Regions from separate parts of the Homo sapiens genome. Here all the other regions are linked to region 1. Evidence: promoter capture Hi-C in human tissues and cell types (Jung and others, 2019). All regions are on one chromosome and are shown on one strand. Each heading gives the region's core, a stretch centred on a gene start or on the middle of the fragment in contact. The rest is flanking DNA. Distances are from core to core; before and after follow the strand shown. Region 1 holds the start of CHRNB3 (cholinergic receptor nicotinic beta 3 subunit). Region 2 overlaps SLC20A2 (solute carrier family 20 member 2). Region 3 overlaps SLC20A2 (solute carrier family 20 member 2). Region 4 overlaps RNF170 (ring finger protein 170). Region 5 holds the start of SLC20A2 (solute carrier family 20 member 2).

What was found. Contacts are between HindIII fragments. The study calls those that stand out against the background at their distance.
Region 2: a contact is called between a fragment that was not itself captured here and the fragment with the promoter of CHRNB3 in region 1, in 3 of the 25 tissues and cell types used here (H1 embryonic stem cells, dorsolateral prefrontal cortex and neural progenitor cells).
Region 3: a fragment that was not itself captured here is called in contact with the fragment with the promoter of CHRNB3 in region 1 in 2 of the 25 tissues and cell types used here (aorta and hippocampus).
Region 4: a fragment that was not itself captured here is called in contact with the fragment with the promoter of CHRNB3 in region 1 in 1 of the 25 tissues and cell types used here (lymphoblastoid cells).
Region 5: a contact is called between a fragment that was not itself captured here and the fragment with the promoter of CHRNB3 in region 1, in 4 of the 25 tissues and cell types used here (H1 embryonic stem cells, heart left ventricle, liver and 1 more).

The regions. Positions count from the first base shown.
Region 1 is chr8:42,695,951-42,698,683 of GRCh38, reverse strand. CHRNB3 (cholinergic receptor nicotinic beta 3 subunit) reads right to left here and starts at 1,318. Exons shown (of 6, transcript NM_000749.5): 1 at 1,086-1,318. The coding sequence starts at 1,137. LOC124900250 (a long non-coding RNA gene) reads left to right here. Exons shown (of 3, transcript XR_001745887.2): 2 at 1,184-1,358; 3 at 2,109-2,186. The HindIII fragment of the contact is 12,880 bases long and covers 1-2,733 here.
Region 2 is chr8:42,457,400-42,460,132 of GRCh38, reverse strand. It overlaps SLC20A2 (solute carrier family 20 member 2), which reads left to right. Exons shown (of 11, transcript NM_001257180.2): 5 at 141-237. Among named protein-coding and RNA genes, the nearest start is that of SLC20A2, 42 kb to the left of the region's middle. The HindIII fragment of the contact is 6,800 bases long and covers 1-2,733 here.
Region 3 is chr8:42,482,829-42,485,561 of GRCh38, reverse strand. All of the region lies in intron 1 of SLC20A2 (solute carrier family 20 member 2), which reads left to right. Among named protein-coding and RNA genes, the nearest start is that of SLC20A2, 17 kb to the left of the region's middle. The HindIII fragment of the contact is 5,297 bases long and covers 1-2,733 here.
Region 4 is chr8:42,886,090-42,888,822 of GRCh38, reverse strand. It overlaps RNF170 (ring finger protein 170), which reads left to right. Exons shown (of 7, transcript NM_030954.4): 2 at 952-1,095. The coding sequence starts at 959. Among named protein-coding and RNA genes, the nearest start is that of MIR4469, 8.8 kb to the left of the region's middle. The HindIII fragment of the contact is 7,579 bases long and covers 1-2,733 here.
Region 5 is chr8:42,500,029-42,502,761 of GRCh38, reverse strand. It overlaps SLC20A2 (solute carrier family 20 member 2), which reads left to right and starts at 1,531. Exons shown (of 11, transcript NM_001257180.2): 1 at 1,531-1,731. RefSeq lists an enhancer at 1-624. The HindIII fragment of the contact is 5,530 bases long and covers 1-2,733 here.

The DNA of each region.
Region 1 (2,733 bases), core at 69-2,568:
AGACTTTGAAAAGTCCAAATTTCATGATATTTGAAAGTGAGTTTGAGGCTTTCTGCATTTAGAAATTCCTGTTTGACTTTGAGTCCTTGGTCTGAGAAAAGGCGTTTTTGACAACAGGATAATGTTCAGGTGCCTCGCAGCCTTGGGAACTTGAAATGTAGAATTTATTTCTGGATTTGGGCAAATCTCCCTTAGTGTCTCCAGTTCTCCATTTGAAAATTACAATAATCAAACGTGGCAAAAATACTACTGAGAAATTAATACAAATTGCTAGTGAACTGACACTTTTCTCACCATCTGGCTGCGGTTTCAGATGGTTTCTGATTCAATGGGGGAAAACTTTCTGTTCTCAAGTTACACAAAAAGTGAAAAGATTCCCAAACCCAGGAAATTGGCAGGTGCAAATGACCAATCCCCAAAGCCTTTCAGTACTTTATTCCCCTTTCTTTTTCTCTTTTTGTTCTTTCTCTGCATCTCTGTCTCTATCTTTCACTTTTTCCTTTTATTTGTCCTTTATCCTTATCAAAAATTCCTCTATTTTCAGTTGATAATAGTCACATAAAACACATAGAGTTTTGATACATTGGTGTTTAATTGTGATATATAAACATGCTAAATCTACCTACATACACAGATTTATTAAAATATATAGGCCTACAGGGCATATTGGACAAAATTAAATATCTACATGCAGATATAGAAATTATTGGTAAATATGATAGAAAAATGTTGATATAGTAAATTTCTGTGCCAAATATTTGAACAATTCTCTGAGTAATGCTCAGTGCATTCAATAATGTTTTTCCTGCTTTTGTATTTTCTTACCAAGCTCATAGTGATTCAGAAGGAGAAACGCAGCAAATGACAAAAACATAAACATTATGAAAATCATAGATATGATTTCTTCAGCAAAAAAAACCCCACATCTCACAGAATTACTCATTTGGGCCACATTTTAAAGGTTATCCTAAATGTATCTTGTGCATTACATATTGTAATTCTAACATTATCAACACCATAGTTTTGCCTCCTCTGCTTAAATAATTCTGCAACTGTAGTTTTAATTTACTGTGACTTGTGCTTACCTGAGGAAGGGATGCCAAGGACGATGAGAACCAGCATAAAATCTGGGAGCATCGTGATGTCAGTTTCAGAAAGACAGTTTCTTCCTTTTTAACAACAGAGCATTTCCACTGGAAAAGGGGGTTTTGAAAAGAAAATACAGGGGTTCAAAATCCGAAGTGGAACCCAAGAGGACAGCAACACCTGGAGTGGAATAAAACAATCTCAACCCCTCTCGCCGAGTGTGCCGCTTCTCAAAGTGCACTTCATTGATTTGCAGTCAGCTGTCAGATCGTGTAAGTCTAAAACATATCTCTGGGTCCTAACTCCTGACTTATTAATTTACTCCCTTGCAAGAGATGCGGGGCACTGGAGAAAGGATGAAACTAGACAACTTCTGAATGTTCTGTGCTATTTTTCTTACAGTTGGAGATCTGCGTACAGAAGAACCACACTTTACCACATCCATAGTGAAAAGTTTCTCATCCCCGTTATTTCTCTATTCTCTTTTCTTTTTCTTTTTATTCTTTTTTTTTTTTTTTTGATATGGAGTCTCACTCTGTCACCCAGGCTGGAGTGCAATGGTGCAATCTCGGCTCACTGCAACCTCCGTCTCCCAGGTTCAAGCCATTCTCCCACCTCAGCCTCCTGAGTAGCTGGGATTATAGGCACCTGCCATCATGCCCAGCTAATTTTTGTATTTTTGTAGAGACAGGGTTTCACCATGTTGGCCAGGTTGGTCTTGAACTCCTGACCTCAGGAGATCCGCCCGCCTTGGCCTCCCAAAGTGGTGGGATTACAGGCATGAACCACTGCGCCCAGCCTCTCTATTCTCTTTTCCAGTTGGACCTGAAGTCATGAGTATGTCCTGGAGCCTCCCTATTCTGCTGGTTCCCACATGTGTTAATATCAGCACATTCTCTGTGGCTCCCTTGACCCCACCAGGCCCACCTTCTGGTCACTGCAGGGGACAGTAGGGTGGGAGGTTAGTGGTGTTTTATGTATGAGACTTGGACACTAATAACACCATCCTTTCTTCTTCACAGTTGATCAGATTTCATCTAGTTCAGTGCTGTGCACACCCAGAGGGCCCTTGATAAATGCATGATACATCAAATGAATGGCAAGTACAAAGTCAGGGCTAGACAGACAAGAGGGCCAGGTGGGAGCCAAGACCTATCTGGTTGGGAACTGAGTGCTGGAGGAACCCACTCCAGGGCATGGAGGAATTCTGTCTTAGCGGCAGTGATTTAGTCCAATTTTTAAATTTCTTAATTTAACCCTCCTCTGTGTGCCATTAGTGAGTTTGAGACACCCAGAGGGTGCTCGGTAAGGAGGCATCATGTGTGGAAAAGAGGTCTAGCCCAGGACCCCGGGACCCTGAGCTCTTGAGCCCTGTCTGTTCCTCAGGGCCCCTGTCTCAGAGCCCCTCACATCACAATGTCGCTGCCCTGCCTGGCCTCCCTTCCTAGACCACCAGCTCCTGCAGGAGGGCTTGGTCTCCAGCCCTCTGGAGTCTCCTCTGTATCTCTCTGTGTCCAGGGCCTGACACCTGCAAATGCTTGAGAACGTTGTGGGAATGCAAGGAGGAAGGAAGGAGCCATGCACTGATTTCCTCCTATCCATCTCAACTGTGCTCCCAGCCTGCTGAGAATTTGTAATGGTCTCAGG
Region 2 (2,733 bases), core at 85-2,584, 240 kb after region 1:
AGTGACAACGCCCATCCTTTTGGCCACACTGGGGTTTGGGAAGAGTTTCTTGTAACAGTATTTTGTATCATTTTGTCTGTGTTGGCTCCAAATGCTGCTGGGATCCTGACCTTCCACTCTGTCTCCTTGTCTTCCTACAGGAAGACCCTGTTCCCAATGGCCTCCGGGCACTCCCAGTATTCTATGCTGCTACCATAGCAATCAATGTCTTTTCCATCATGTACACAGGAGCACCAGGTAAGGATCCCTTGGAAGCATACTCCAGGGGCAAAGTGCATTGTATTCTAACAGTATCAGTTTATTTGGTGCTGGTATTGTTGGCTGACAGTAAAAAGCATTACTCATGGTCATTATGGAATAGGTGCTGGAGTTGTTGGCTGATAGTAAAATGCGTTACTCATGGTCATTATAGAATAGTAAAAAGAGTGGTAAATGCATTTACTTGTCTTAATTAAATACCCAAGAGATATGTAGAGTACAAAGGCAACAGACTTTCAAGTTAGAAAAAAAAATTAAATCCCCACTCTGCCATTTACGCAGCTGTGTTGCCACTATAGCTTAGCCTCTCTGAGCCTCAGAACCTGATCTAATCCCACAGGCCTACAGGGTTGTGCAGGGGTCAGGAGAGGGTGTGGAGCACCTGGGGCCATGCCTGGCACCCAGTGAGCGGGACAGTCCACACATCAGCAATGCCCAGCGGAGCTCTAAAGCCGTTCACAGCACAGAGTACAGACCCCTGGAAATATCAGACCAGTTTATCCAGAGACTAGAAGCCATGCTTTGTTTTTTTAGATACCGAAGCCAATGATGATTTTCTTTGCTGAATTACTCCTTTCCTTGTCATTCTCATGGATTTTGTTGTTATTTTTTATGTTTTTTTTTTTTTTTTTTTTTTTTGAGATAGAGTCTCACTCTCTCACCCAGGATGGAGTGCAATCGCGCTATCTTGGAAAACTGCAACCTCCGCCTCCCAGGTTCAAGCGATTCTCCTGCCTCAGCCTCCTTAGTAGCTGGGATTACAGGAGCACACCACAGGTTTTCACTATGTTGGCCAGGCTGGTCTCGAACTCCTGACCTTGTGATCCGCCTGCCTCGACCTCCCAAAGTGCTGGGATTACAGGCGTGAGCCACTGCGCCTGGCCGCTTTTGTTCTTTTGTATAAAGGTTCAGAGGTTTTTTGTGGGGGGGGGGGTTAAAAATTATTTTTTATTTTATTTTATTTTTGAGACAGAGGCTCGCTCTGTTGCCCAGGCTGGAGTGCAGTGGCGCTATCTTGGCTCACTGCAAGCTCCGCCTCCTGGGTTCATGCCATTCTCCTGCCTCAGCCTCCCGAGTAGCTGGGACTACAGGCGCCCTCCTCCTCGCCCAGCTAATTTTTTGTATTTTTAGTAGAGACAGGGGTTTCACCATATTAGCCAGGATGGTCTCAGTCTCCTGACCTCATGATCCGCCCCACCTTGGCCTCCCAAAGTGCTGGGATTACAGGCATGAGCCACCATGCCCGGCCTTTTTTTTTTTTTTTTTCTTTATTGCCCAGGCTGGAATGCAGTGGTGCAATCATAGCCCACTGCAGCCTTGACCTCATGGGCCCAAGCAATCCTCCCACCTCAGCCCCCTGAGTAGCCGGAACCACAGGTGTGTGCCACCACACCCAGCTAATTTTTTATTTTTTGTAGAGATGGGGTCTCTATATTGCCCAGGCTGGTATCAAACTCCTGGCCTCAAGTAATCCTCCTGCCTCAGCTTCCCAAAGTGCTGGGATTACAGGTGTGAGCCCTACTGCACCTGGCCTAATTCTTTTCTTTTAGACCTTGAATAGGAAAATGAATAAGCTTATGTATGGTATTCTTGTTTGCACCCATTTCAGCACTGATGAGCTAGTAGCATTCTGTTAAACATTTCTGTACATGTTTGCTAGAGAATATTCCTCTTCTGTTTGTGAGATGCGCCTCCTACAGCCAGACTGTGGGATCTGTGACATCAACAGATGTGTTAGTTTGTGCTGGTTTTCATCTTCTTAATGTCTGTTATGGATGAAGATTTGGTTATTGGCCATGTTGACAGAAAAGGCTCCCTCTCTGTGTTTTAAAGATGAAATTTCTGCTAAATGACATGTCCTATCATAATCGAAAAGCGCCCTCTTCCAAAATAGTGGAAATCCTTATTACTTTCTCAAACTAGGAGTTCTCAATGTAATGTTCCTCAGATTTTATTAAGAATATCTAATTATATTTTATATGTTTCAGTACTGGGAATAAAGTATTCCTAAATGATTCTAACATTATATAACCTTTTACTGTGGTATCTGTGTAGTGTTCAGAACATTGATCTTAAAGGCTTAAATACTCAGCCGGGCGCAGTGGCTCATGCCTGTAATCCCAACACTTTGGGAGGCCGAGGTGGGTGGATCACAAGGTCAAGAGATCAAGACCATCCTGGCCAACCTGGTGAAACCCCGTCTCTACTAAAAATACAAAAATTAGCTGGGCGTGATGGTGCGCGCCTGTAGTCCCAGCTACTCAGGAGGCTGAGGCAGGATAATTGCTTGAACCTGAACCCAGGAGGTGGAGGTTGCAGTGAGCCAAGCTTGCGCCACTGCCCTCCAGCCTGGGTGACACAGCGAGACTTTGTCTCAAAAAAAAAAAAAAAGTTTAAATACTCACTGTGGGGCTTCCAGACTTTGGGTGATTTGCGGATGAAGGAAAGGGGAGTGCCAGAGCTGCTTTAGGTTCT
Region 3 (2,733 bases), core at 111-2,610, 210 kb after region 1:
CAAGCGATTCTCCTGCCTCAGCCTTCTGAGTAGCTGGGATTACAGGCGCCCGCCACTACACCCGGCCAATTTTTGTATTTTTAGTAGAGATGAGGTTTCACCATGTTGGCCAGGCTGGTCTCGAACTCCTGACCTCAGGCGATTCACCCGCCTCGACCTCCCAAAGTGCTTGAATTACAGGCGTGAGCCACCGCGTTCGGCCTAGCCCCAAGTTTTCTAAAGGAAAAATGCAGGCACAGGGAGCTTGACAAGCTCCCCTTTTTTGGAGGGGGGTGCTTTCTGGGTCTTTTATTTGTACGCATTGTGTCCATTACCCCGTGAGTGTACCCAGGGAAATCAGCTGACCTCCCTGAACATTCCATGCAGTGAGAGAAGCAGTGAGGAAATAAATGAGTGACTCTGATGCCTGGTCATCTCAGCCCCCCTTTACAGGCACAGTGGGTGGGAGAAGGGAAGGGCTGTGATTGTCCTGACCTCTGCGAAGGAGGAAAGGTGGGCTGGAGGCTGGGCTGTTAGCACCTCCCTCCCGCAGTTTCGAGGGCTCACTCTGGGCTTAGGTTTGCCAGGGTGCCCTTTGGTCCAAATGCAGGCCTTGTGCTTAGTCGTGTGCCCTGTTCACCTCTTGGCCTGGAGGCCTTTTTGTGCTGCTGCTGTCTCAGGGCCAGCTGCATGGCCGAGATGCTCAGTGGCTGCGTGTAGACCAGCAAGCAGAACACCCAGCTGGCTGGATGCCCTCGGGGTCTGGAAGGCCAGGCCCAGGTGCTCCCGCATGATATGGGAGCAGCCTTTAGCTGCCTGGCTGCCCTCCCAAGTCAGGCTCTCTTGGATCATGGTGGCTGCCAGCCATAGACCACACCCACCCACACTTCATCAGACTGCACATTGGATCTGTCAGGGGACACCATGGGGCTGCACCCCATTCTGCACCCATGGCCTCTCCTGCAAAGCTGGAAGATAGCTTTGAAAGCACAGAGTGCAAGAAAGATGATCTTTATCGTGCATGGGGAATTAAGAGCCATGAGCATTCTCAGAGTGAGGAAATAGTTTTCAAAGAAATCTTATAAAATGTCTTTTCTCTTTTGTGTTTTTTACTGCCATCCCATGGTTTTGTGAAGGTATTAATAATATCAAGCCAGTGCTCATGGTTTCTTAATTTAGTAAAAAGATTTCACTCTCAGTCTCCATAGAAGATGAGAGGAACTGCTAAATTTCTACCTGACTTACCAATCAAATGAACGCTCTTGGGACTATATTGCCTTGTTTAGTGTGTTTATACTGCCAATTTAGCAAGTTATTAGTGAAGTAGAATCAGGTTTTCAGATTTCTGATGAAGCACTTCAGAGAATTGAACAGATTCTCCCACATGGCAAAGAGGAAGAGGCTGCCTAGATCAACTTAATAATCATTTGTCCTCTGTTGTTTTTTCTGCTGGCTAAGAACAATTGCTTAAGAATCTCTGGAATGATAACAAGAAATATGGGGCTGTAAGTTGAGCATGGAAAGGAGTTAAGATAATTTCATTTGTCAGCTCCTCTGTTTATATTAATGTTGCATTAATGGAAAGAATATGCGGTTGTACCAGGAACAAAAAGTTTTATAAGTACCATCCATATTTTTATTGAACCTCCAATAGAATCAAAACAAAGTTAGCAAATAAACATGTAAGAGCCATATCTATTTTCATACATGGTTCCATTTTAAACTGTCTCTGAAGGGAAAGTATTTTCCTAATATAGCTCTTGGAACTTAGCCAAACAGTCCAACATTTCAGGGCACAGAATTGGAACAAGTGATCCTAGGTTTGTCATTTGATAGAAGTTTCATATGTTAAGCGATTTGCTCACGAATATCTACCTATTTTTGGTTATGAGTGAAGAAAATACCTAGAATATCTGGGAGGGCGGGGAATCCATTTATAGTGCATACGGAAAGGAAGAAAGGAGAAAATGTTGAAGAGTCTTTTCTGTGTTAGAGAGTGGGAATAAATTCATAAAGCTTGGCTATTCTCGTCCCTCGCTTCCAGACAGTAGTGTGCCTCAGACTCTCCAGCAAGGCGGTGATCTACTTTAAAAGTCTCTACTGCTGGGGAGTCCACATTTCCAGTGGGAGCTCACTTCGGTGGGCTGCAACCTATTCCATTATAAATGTGTTTCTCCTATCCAAATACAGTTAATTAGTTTGTTTGTTTTTAAGACGGAGTTTTGCTCTTGTCACTCAGGCTGGAGTGCAATGGCACGATCTCGCCTTACTGCAACCTCTGCCTCCTGGGTTCAACCAATGCCTCCGCCTCAGCCTCCCTGGTAGGTGGGATTATAGGCACCTGCCACCATGCCCACCTAATTTTTGTATTTTTAGTAGAGACGGATTTTAGTAGAGACGGAAACAACAGAGTCTCACCATGTTGGCCAGGGTGGTCTCGAACTCCTGACCTCAAGTGATCCACCCAGCTTGGCCTCCCAAAGTGCTGGGATTACAGGCGTGAGCCACTGTGCCCAGCCCAGTTGTTTTTCTTTAAGAGACTGAGTTTTGCTCTTGTTGCCCAGGCTGGAGTGCAATGGCACAATCTCAGCTCACTGCAACCTCTGCCTCCTGGGTTCAAGCGACTCTCCTGCCTCAGCCCCCTGAGTAGCTGGGATTACAGGGACCTGCCCCTACACCTGGCTAATTTTTTGTATTTTTAGTAGAGACGGATTTTTACCATGTAGAGAGATTTTCACCATGTTGGCCAGGCTG
Region 4 (2,733 bases), core at 153-2,652, 190 kb before region 1:
TGGATAAGAATGGCTTTTATTTATTTATTGTTTTTGGTTGGGGGGTGGGGAGGTTGGGGGGCGGGGGACAGGGTCTTGCTCTGTCTCCCAGGCTGGAGTACAGTGGCGCTCTCTGGGCCTCACTACAACCTCTGCCTCCCAGGTTCAAGCGATTCTCCTGCCTTAGCCTCCAGAGTAGCTGACATTACAGGCACACGTCACCCGGCTAAATTTTGTATTTTTAGTAGAGACGGGGTTTCACCATGTTGACCAGGCTGGTCTCGAACTTCTGACCTCAGGTGATCCGCCTGCCTCAGCCTCCCATAATGCTGGGATTACAGGCGTGAGCCACTGCATCTGGCCCAAGAATGGCTTTTTTTTTTTAAAGGGGTTAAGCTTGAAGAGGAAAAAACATTTTTAAAAAATACATAAATAAATGATAAATTATAGTAATTGTTTTCCTTAAAAGAAATAGAATTTGGCTGGGTGCAGTGGCTCATGCCTGTAATCCCGGCACTTTGGGAGGCCGAGGCAGGTGGATCACGAGGTCAGGAGATCAAGACCATCCTGGCTAACACGGTGAAACCCTGTCTCTACTAAAATACAAAAAATTAGCCAGGCGTAGTGGTGCGCGCCTGTAGTCCCAGCTACTTGGGAGGCTGAGGGAGGGGAATTGCTTGAACCCGGGAGGCGGACGTTGCAGTGAGCTGAGATCCGCATCACTGCACTCCAGCCTGGCAACAGAGCAAGAGACTCCATCCAAAAAAAATAGAAATAGAATTTTGTTCTCCACAAAATAATGTGTCTGGCAAATTTTAAAGAACTCCATCAGTCCCCACTGGAGTTGTACTTAATTGCAGCCTATCAGAAACCAAATATATTAGAAGTCAGTTATATTTACATTGCTTTTATTAGTATATTTCATTTTCACTGTGTCATTTGTAACTCTCATCTTGTTTCTTCTTATTTTAGACCTGGAATGGCCAAATATCAAGGTGAAGTTCAAAGTTTGAAACTGGATGATGATTCAGTTATAGAAGGAGTAAGCGACCAAGTACTTGTGGCAGTTGTGGTCAGTTTCGCTTTGATTGCTACCCTGGTATATGCACTTTTCAGGTGAGATTTAAGGACAAAAGAATTGAGTAGATTTGCAAGGGCTGCTGACTTTTTGACCCCTAATAATGTATAATACTTAATATGAACAGCAAGTAACAGATCTCAGTGATTGTAGATGTTTACTAAGGTATTTTATTTTCCACGGGGCTTTGAATGCTAACATATATTTCCTGTCATCAGCTGTCTTACCAAATAATAATTAAATTTATCATCCACATTTTGAATAAAATATTAGTACTTTCTATTGGCGTATGGCAATTTAAAAAACTTTAATTTCCATAATTAAATCCATCAACTTGTAGGTGATATAGATGATAAGTGCAAAATACTTTCAGTTTTAAATGGAAAAATTGAGGCAAAAAAAGACTTGTATAGTAAAAAGGGAACTAATATTAGAATTAATTTTTTTACTTATTTATTTATTTATTTATTTTTTGAGACGGAGTCTCAATGTGTCGTCCAGGCTGGAGTGCCATGGCACTGTCTCAGCTCACCACAACCTCTGCCTCTGGGGTTCAAGCGATTCTCCTGCCTCAGCCTCCCAAATAGCTGGGATTACAGGCACATGCCACCATGCCCGGCTTATTTTATATTTTTAGTAGAGATGGGGTTTCTCCATGTTGATCAGGCTGGTCTCAAACTCCTGACCTGAGGTGATCCACCTGCGTCAGCCTCCCAAAGTGCTGGGATTACAGGCTTGAGCCACTGCACCTGGCCCTAATTTTTTGTATTTTTTTGTAGAGACAGGATTTCGCTAGGTTGGCCAGGCTGGTCTCAAACTCCTGACCTCAAGTGAACCACCCGACTCAGCCTCCCAAAGTGCTGGGATTACACTCATGAGCCACTATGCCCAGCCTATTTATTTATTTTAGAGACAGGGTCTCGCTACATTGCCCCAGTTGGACTTGAACTCCTGGACTCAAGCAGTCCTCCCATCCCAGCTTCCCAGGTTGCTGGGACTACAGGTATGCACCACTGCACCTGATTCTAAAATTAATTTAGGCTGGATGTGGTGGCTCACGCCGGTAATCCCAGCACCTTGGGAGGCTGAGGCAGGCGGATCACCTGAGGTCAGGAGTTCGAGACTAGCCTGGCCAACATGGTGAAACCCTCGTCTCTACTAAAAATACAAAAATTAGCTGGGCATGGTGGCAGGTGCCTATAATCCCAGCTACTTGGGCGGCTGAGGCGTGAGAATCACTTGAACTTGGGAGGCAGAGGTTGCAGTGATCCAAGATAGTCTCTTATTAGGGTAACATTATCTTGATTTCAATCGGGTATTTTATAGAGTGATAATCCAGAGTGATTGATACTGGTGATACACTGTGGATATCATGGGGGAAATAATGACTAGATGATAGCAGAGTTAAGTGAACTCCACTAAGCAGGTTGTTCTTAGGATTCCTGACTAATGTTTTAATATACACCAAATAGAAGGACATTGTATATTGCTGCAGGGCTCTGTCCTTGGGCCTTTTCTATTATTATTATTATTTTTTTTTTTGAGACCGAGTCTCACTCTGTTGCCCAGGCTGGAGTGCAGTGGCGTGATCTCGGCTCACTGCAAGCTCCACTTCCCGGGTTCACGCCATTCTCCTGCCTCAGCCTCCTGAGTAGCTGGGACTACAGGTGCCCACC
Region 5 (2,733 bases), core at 168-2,667, 200 kb after region 1:
GCTGACTTCTCTCCTTTCAGCACAGAGCAGGAAATGCCTGCCTCCCATGACTCTGGGTTGGAGTGAAGGGGAATGCATACCAGCCACCCTCTTGCAGAGGTGGGGCAGGTGCTGGCACAGAGCCTCAGGTTAGGCCGAGGGGATGCAATCTCAGATCAGCAGCCAGCAGTGTTTGTAAACAACAGGAGGGAGATTGTGCTGGTGATGTCCAACTCACACCAATGAAGATCAACCGGTTTGTGCTTTGGGCAGCAGGCTGCAGATGGACAGTGCCTCCTGAGGGCATCGCCATGTTTTAGGGATCCATGTTGCAGGATACCTGTCTGCAAGAGAGAGTCAAGGAGGGCTTTTTAAGCCCCTGGGGTTCAGGCCTGGCATCTGGGTGTTAAGTAGAGTGAATCTCCTGAAGTCCAAACTAACATATGACATTTTAAAATGAGGAAAACAAATGGCTCTGAAAAGGTCTATAGGATTATAGGTAAGTGGTTAATACGGAAGATGTTATAAAGGTCTCAGGAGGAGATGGGGTGATCCAGGGTTGGTTGAAGTCGTTGAAATGGAATTACCCTGTCTTTTACCTGTCTGTGGGAAAAAAAAAAAAAGAGGAAAATGACATCTCCCAAAGATGCTTGGAGATTTGATTGATGTTTGTAAAGTGCTTTGATATCTTTCATAGAGTGTTCAATAAGAGCAAAATATGTCATCAGAACTTAGTCTAAAGCAAACTAGTCCCAAACCGTCTTGAGTAGATACTAAGCGGTTTTGTGTCTTTGTTATAAGTTGTACTTATATTTTCGAGAGAAAGTTTTTCATGTTCTGATTTTCTTTTAAGTGTCAGCTGTATGTTTGGGGTCTTTACCTGTTAACTTGAGTTCCAACATGCTTTGTAGATGGTCAGTCACCTACAGAGGACAATTTTTCTAGCCAAGGAGTTAAATCCACCTTAAAATGCTTCTTGCCAAGGACAATGCCTTTGCAAATATTTGAGATGTTTATTCTCAGTTGTGATTTATTACTGAATCTGTGTCTTCATAGCGACTCCTTGGGAGGTGCAGGAGGAGGCAGAGCCAGAAAGCAAGTCCCTGCAATCAGTTCATTATAGAGAAAGAAAAAGCTTTTATTTCAGGATTCTGGTGGATAGACTTACTGATATGTATATTCTGTGTCTATTTAATTTCACGTAGTGCTGCATCTAATCACGCTGTTTAAATAATCGGACAGAATGTCCTTTTGCTTTGCTTTTGCTTGTGAAGAGCACACAGCACTGCCACCTTGTTGCCAAAGTTTGGTCTGATTTGAATGTGCTTAAAAATCAAGTGAATGCCTGTTGGGAAAAAGCTTACTCCTTCTCTTTGTCAGTACTTGCAAAAACAACTTAAAAGAAGTTAGTATTATTGGACTGAATTCAGTAATTAGCATAATCATGATGCTATGTATTGTTCACCAGGGCACGCCCCTTGGCCGCATTTCCCATTAAGAGGACACCGATGTTGTCCTAGTGAATAAATCCCGGCACACATGATGCAAATCAGCGTGTTCCTGCCTGCTGCTTGGCTGCAGTTAATTTTAGCCGGGGTTAGTTCTATGAGTTGTAAAAGTAGAAGTTAGCAAGCTGAAATGTGACTTCTCGGCCTAATGTGGTAGGATATCTATTTTAGACTTCAGATTGTGTTTGTGATCAGGAGAGCAGTCTTCTGAAGAATTGTGGCTCAGTTTTCTTGGAAACTACTTGTAAGTACTGGGTGGAATTTTAAGACTTCTCTTTGTTCTTTTCTCCTTAAATCTTCCTAATGTTACCGTCATAGTAATGTTTATCTCTTGGGAAAACTGGAAGCTTTCAGGTTGGTACGTTAGAGAAAGCTAAGAGAGGTGGCAAAAGGTTTTTCTTTAAATGTCTCCTACTGCAATAAATCTGCCTTATTCAATTTGCCCAAGAAAAAGTTTTCGATTCTTACTTATTTTTGCAAAAGCAATCTGTAGATTATTATTTTATGTTAAAATATTTGATTAATGGATATGGTTTCTGTAAATACAGAAACATTGTATTGTGTCATTGAGCTTTGTTTTCTACTATGGTAACCTAATTCTTGAGAAAAAAATGTTGAAAGTTAATTCCTGTTATACTCTGTGCTACAAGTTTATTTTGTAGAAATAATGGAGTGTCAAATGTAATTTTCTTGAATGTATAGATGGACAGTTTTTTATCCTTTTAAGGGGGATTTTGTGCTTAAAAAATAAACCCATATATGCCTAAAGAGAAGCACTTTAAAAAATTAATTTAGGAAGAAGGTTTTAGAGAATAATTTAAAGCATCCTCTTTTAGACTGAGTTAGTTATCAAAAGTAACCAAAGGCCATGGGATTCTGTAACCTTAACTGCAGTTCATCTAACACATTATTACCAACTTAAATTTGTACTGAAGAAAACAAAAGATTTTGATATTGAATATTTTAAATTAAATTTGAATCATCTTGCTTATTTAGAAGTGTGTTTTCAATGTGGACTGACCTCAAGCCAAACAGTTTGCTTACAGCAGAGAACCAGGCAGGAATTTCTTTATCAATTAGCAAGTAAATGTATCAGCTTTAGGAATATTGTTATTAATAAAACAGTTCTCCTAGGCGATAGGATAGGTGCTCACCAGCTATCTATGCCTGTCATCTCTAGAGCAAGGAAGGAGGCAGGTCCACAGTTAGTATTGTGAAAGCCATTTTCCCATTTTGAAAAGATTTA